Linked DNA regions of Homo sapiens: region 2 is linked to region 1. The links are contacts of gene promoters, found by promoter capture Hi-C in blood cells and fetal thymus (Javierre and others, 2016). All regions are on one chromosome and are shown on one strand. The core of a region is centred on a gene start or on the middle of the fragment in contact, and the rest is flanking DNA. Distances in the headings are between cores, read along the strand shown. Region 1 holds the start of LRP3 (LDL receptor related protein 3). Region 2 overlaps CHST8 (carbohydrate sulfotransferase 8).

The links. Contacts are between HindIII fragments. The CHiCAGO score rates a contact against its expected background, and 5 or more counts as called.
Region 2: a fragment that was not itself captured here is called in contact with the fragment with the promoter of LRP3 in region 1 in 1 of 17 cell types (M2 macrophages); the score reaches 5.7 in M2 macrophages.

What each region holds. Positions count from the first base shown.
Region 1 is chr19:33,192,947-33,195,646 of GRCh38, reverse strand. It overlaps LRP3 (LDL receptor related protein 3), which reads right to left and starts at 1,317. Exons shown (of 7, transcript NM_002333.4): 1 at 789-1,317. The coding sequence starts at 861. The HindIII fragment of the contact is 39,491 bases long and covers 1-2,700 here.
Region 2 is chr19:33,768,196-33,770,895 of GRCh38, reverse strand. The region is part of intron 3 of CHST8 (carbohydrate sulfotransferase 8); the gene reads right to left. Among named protein-coding and RNA genes, the nearest start is that of KCTD15, 27 kb to the left of the region's middle. The HindIII fragment of the contact is 755 bases long and covers 1,072-1,826 here.

The DNA.
Region 1 (2,700 bases), core at 68-2,567:
GTGGCTTCAGCAAACCTGTCAGGTTACAGAGCCCTCACTGGTGACATCACAGGGTGTCCCCTAATGACCCCCAGTTCTTATAATGGCCTCCCTCCTTCATCACAGTAAATAAAGGAGCCATGTGGGTTGGGGATTTAACTCCTCCTCTCGCCTACACAGAGCGCTGGAAAGCTGGACAGAAAAACTCCCGGACAGGGCGGGAGCCCCTCCCACCCCATGCCTGGCCTTGACCGGTCCCTGGCCCAACCCAAGCACCCTCCTAAACTGAACAGGCCTGCCTGGGGGCTGAGAGACACAAAGGGAAAACAGGAGTCCCCTGGAAGCCGCCTCCACACTGGCACCCTCCTCCAGCCCTGCCCCGCACCCCGAGTCCCCATCTGCGGCTTACACCAGCCCCCACCCCAACTCCGGGCCGGAAACAGTTTCTTCTTCAGGGGACAGCCGGCCTGGCCTTTGTCCCCAGCTCCCGGGGCCCCCTCGTCTCCAGGCTCAGCGCGGGCGGGCCGGGTTGAAGGCTGCCGCCTGCACGAAGGGCCTCCTGCCAGCGCTCAGCCCGGGCTCCGGGCGCTACTCCGAGCGGGGCGGGAGCCGGGGCTGCGCCACCAGAGTCGCCCTCCCAGGCCCGGGGCCAGGCGGGCAAGCGGTGCTGGCCCCTCTCTGGGTCTCCGCGCGGGAGCCACCGCGGTGGGGGGCTCGGGATGCCGCGGCCGGAGAGGAGGTCGGTCAGGGCGCGGCGCGGACTGCCATGCGGGGGACCCGGACCTGCCCGGCCCGCGCGGCCCACTCACCCAGACAGACGACGGCCAGCTGCGCCCGGGCGCCCGGCGCGCCCTCCAGCCCCGCGGCCGCGCGCTTCTCCATGCCGGGCCCGGCCGCCCGCGGGCGCCGCCTCCTGCCCCGCGGCTCCGGCTCCGGTTCCGGCTGCGGCTCCGGCTCTGGCTCTGGCTGCGGCTCGGGCTCGGGCTCGGGCTAGGGCTCGGGCTCCGGCTGGCGTGGCTGCTGCGGCCCGGGTGCAGGCGGCGGCTCCCGAGGCGTCTTTGTGCGGTGGCGGTGCAGGCCCGTAGGGCGCGCGCGGCCACATCGGCCGCGGCGTCACGGGCCCTGCGGGGGCTCAGCGGCGGCCGCCAGGGAAGACCCCCGCCCGCCGCTGCCCCCGCGCCCCGGGAGCCCCGCCGCGGCCGGCCTGGGCCCGGGGACCCCCGGCGCGCCCATGCCCCGCGGCGCGCAGCCCGCCCGGCCCCGGCGTCCCCGGGCCGCCCCGCGCTGCGCCCAGCCCGCCCGGCCGGGTGCCGCCGGTAGAGCGTCCGTGGGTCTGTCAGTCCTCCCGCCCGGCCCCTCGCCCGCGCCCGGAGCCTGGAGGCCGCGCTGCGCCAGCCACGTGACGCGCCCGCCGAGCCGCAGTGGCGCTGGCTGGGCGGGCGGAGGCGGCTGGGGCGGGCCGGGGGCGCACGCCCCGCCTCGGGGTGCTGGACAGCTCTGCGCACCAGCCCCGCCCCGCCCGCGCCCCCCGCCGCGCTCCCCGCGCTCCAGCCCAGTGCTCCAGGCAGCCGGTGCTCGCCTGGCCTCCTCCCGGGCCCACGAATTGATCCCTCCTGGAGCCGGCTGTGCTGAGGAGGACCGGGGAGCGAGGACTGGGAAAAGGTGGGAGAGAGAGGACGGCTTAGGGACCTCATAGGGGTGGCACAAGGCTAAGGCCTGTCTTCTTCGCAAGGTGTCCCTGTTCCTGCCCCTCCGCTTCTTTCATTTGCCACAGTCCAAGTGCCCTGTCACGTCTCTAAGAGGAACCCCCTGTGCCAAGCAAGACCTGTCAGGGGACATTGGTGAACACACCAGAGGCCTCTGGAGATCTCCCAGGGCCCCCTGAGCCCACCCTGTTACCCACTATCCTCGTGAGGCTGGGGACTTGGGAGGAGGCCTGCTTCTTAGGCTGGGGGTGCCCTCTGGAGAGCTGCCCACCAAGAGGTTGAGTCCAATGAGGCAAGAACCAGGAGAGACAGGGGGAAGGTTTGAGAAGGCCATTTAGGGCCAAGACGGATGTGAAATCAGAGGTCCCCAAAGGCTCCATGGCACAGCGGGCCCACCAACCTGAGCTGAGGCTCCCAACCCTTTTCTAACACCCCCAGACCCTCATTTGATATTCTCCGTTTATGGAGAGAAGGTTGAGAGAAACTGATGGTCCGTTAGTGAAAGCGTAGACAGTCACTCACTCACTCGCACTGTGCAGGTTGATTGGATTTTAATAAAAAATGGGGGGAAGAAAAATCCTTTTAGTTTTTCTGGGTTTTCTTATTCTCTCTCTTCTAATTCCTTTGGTGATTTTTCCAAAGCAGACTTCTTAGGAAATGTATTAAAGGACGTAAAAATCAAATAACAAGATACATTACAGATTGATGGCATAGAGCACTAGCCTATGTGTAATTTGGTTTCAGAATTTCCTCAGACTGCTGACTGCGGATGAGCAGGCATTTATTTACGCATGGCAAAAATGCTCAACAGAGGCAGGGGCAATGGTAGGGTGGATCTGCGGTTTGTTCGTTTGTTGTTGTTGTTGTTGTTGTTGCTGCTGCTGCTGCTGCTTCTTAGTTTTTTTAGAGACAGTCTCACTTTTTCACCCAGGCTAGAGTGCAGAGCTGCAACCATAGCTCACTGTACCCTCAAACTCCTGGGCTCAAGCAATCCTCCCACCTCAGCCTCCCAAGT
Region 2 (2,700 bases), core at 200-2,699, 580 kb before region 1:
ACGTGCTTCTTCTCCTCTTGCTACAGGAAGTTCCCTAACCTGGGCATTTGCTTTGTGATCTTGGCCTTCTCAGCTGGCTCTGGAGTTCTGGGGTGAGCTAAGCATATCTTGCTCGCCCTGGTCTCCCCCAAAGCCCTAAGCAGCGCCCAGGTAGAGGGTAATTGTCCAGCGTTAACTTACTGATGACCTCAGGAAGACACAGAGAGACCAGTGCATCAATGGCCATGCTCTGGAACGCCCCCTCTGCCTACCAAGGAGGCCCATGCCTGGGCTGGGCTCACCTAAGAAGCAAGCTCTGGTGAGGTGAACCTTTGGCCAGAGCAGAATATTCTGTGTCATACCTCATTTGGTCTGCTTTGGGGGAAAGTCGCAGGAGGACAAGGAGATTCCCTTTGGGGGGAATCTATTTAGAAGCTGGAGCCTCCTTCCCCAGTCCCTACCTGGCCACCGAGGAATCAGGGGCTCTTTCTGCTCCAGTACCATGTGGGTGGACATTTTCGTCCTGAGGCTCTGCCAAAAGCCATGGTCACCATCAGAGCCAGCTATCCCTTAAGGAGAGAGCTGGATCTTCTGGCTGGCGCGCCGGGGCACCATGCCCGACCACACCTGAGCAAATCCTGGCTGCTGCCTGCGGGAGGGGGGTTCCAGTGTCCCACCACTTTCCTGGCTGTCTCCACGTCCTGGGCAGAGGTCCAGTGGCAGGAGCCCAGCTGGTGAAGGGATCTCCAGGTCTTCCCTGAGCCAGAGATTCTGTGGATTTCTCCATGAGGTCCAGTTTTACAGACTCAGCCACTGCCATGCCCCAGACAATGTAAGGCTGAGGCCGTGCCCGCACGTCTCCTTCAGTCATTAGCAGGCCAGGAAGGAGATGCAAGGTCAGCCCTGGAATGGACAGCCTGAATTCCCTGAGCTTGCCCGAACCTTCCTCAAGTCCCAAGAGAGGCAGAAATGCAGGCAGAACTGGGACACATTTCATCTTTCTTCCGCTTGTCCCTTTGGGCTGGGAACAAGGGTATGCTCTCCCCTGGGCAAAGGGCAGAGTGTCCCCATCTTCCTGGGCACTCCCAAGCTTATGTGCACATGCGTGCATGTGGGGGATCTTTGAAACAGGCCTTCTAGACTCTTCCCTGGAGACTGAGGGGAAGCTCCAAGTAGACCTGGCTGCACCCTTCAGGGTGTGGGGTGTAAGTAGCAGGTGCCTGGCCTGAGAGAGGAGTCTTTAGAATCAAGCTGCTCATTGCCACCCCCTGCCATGCCCAGAGTCTATTTCCCTCCTTGACAGCCACCCCCTCCTCTTCCCCATCCCATCATTACTGCAGCTGTCCCAGCACGAGCCTCCAGAGCTCCTTTCTCTCCCGCAGCCGATGATGACAGCTCCCTTCACTAGAAGGGACCCGCTGCACCACTTGGTTTTCCTCTACTCTGCCAGATTTCCTTAATTATTTTCTTCTGGTTATGGCAGCTGGCTCTGCTAAACCACCTCTCCTCCTCAGAGTCTCAGATATGGGAAATCACTCTGCTTGTCACTCCTGTCATCTCATCAAGGTGTGACGGTGCTTATATATTCCTTTTCTAAAGCAAATGAGTCATGCCAGATTTGGCCAAGAGTGGGGCTGAGAAGCCACTTCCAAAAGGGATCCTGCCAGTCGGGGGGAAGATGGAAGGCCATGTGCTTGTTGAGGTTGCAGCCCCTGAGGCCATGACCTCCCACTGGCACTGTCCCCACAGCCTCGGAGGGCAGTGGGCTGTGGTCCTGTTCCATTTTACCTGTGAGGACTGGACAGGGGGACACTGTCTCCTGGACCTCTGGACTCTGAGCCTAAGCTTCTGGGGCTGTCCCACTCTAATGCTCGCTGAGCTAGAGCCCTTGGCATTAACTAGAGGAAAAGTTCCTTCTAGACAAAGCCTGGGGCTGGGCGAGTCTCCTGATTTCCTGTTTACATGTGTCCATAAAGCCAACCTGCCTGCAACTTCCTCCTTTGAAAGGAAAAATTGCCTTGTGGAGAGTAAGAGAGATCAGTAACATCTTAAGTAGAGCCTGAGTTTGCCATAAGCTATTCCCAACCCTTAGACTTACGGCAGCTTATCAGGCAAAGATTAGACCTATCCCCACAAGCTCACTTTAACATTTTTAAAAATTTACTGCCGGGCACGGTGGCTCATGCCTGTCATCCCAGCACTTGGGAGGCTGAGATGGGCTGATCACTTGAGTCCGGGAGTTCGAGACTAGCCTGGCCAATATAGTGAAACCCGATCTCTACTAAAAATACAAAAAAATTAGCTGGGTGTGGTGGTGCATGCCTGTTATCCCAGCTACTCAGTAGGCTGAGACATGAAAATTACTTGAACCCAGGAGGCAGAGATTGCAGTGAGCTGAGATCACACCACTGCACTACAGCCTGAGCAACAGAGTGAGACTTTGTCTCAAAAAAATAAAATAAAATAAAGAAAAAGAAAAAAAATTTACATTTATTTTAGAAATAGTTAGAGATGGGGTCTTGCTATGTTGTCCAGGCTGGTCTCAAACACCTGGCCTCAAGAAATCCTCCTGCCTCGGCCTCCCAAAGGGCTGGAATTATAGGTGCGAGCCACCATACCTGGCTACAAGTTCACTTTCGAATAAAGAAGAAACGTAATGAAGGAAATCTAAAGGGACCTCCCCTTTGCCGTGAACCTAGTGTCCCCACTAGGAAGAAAACT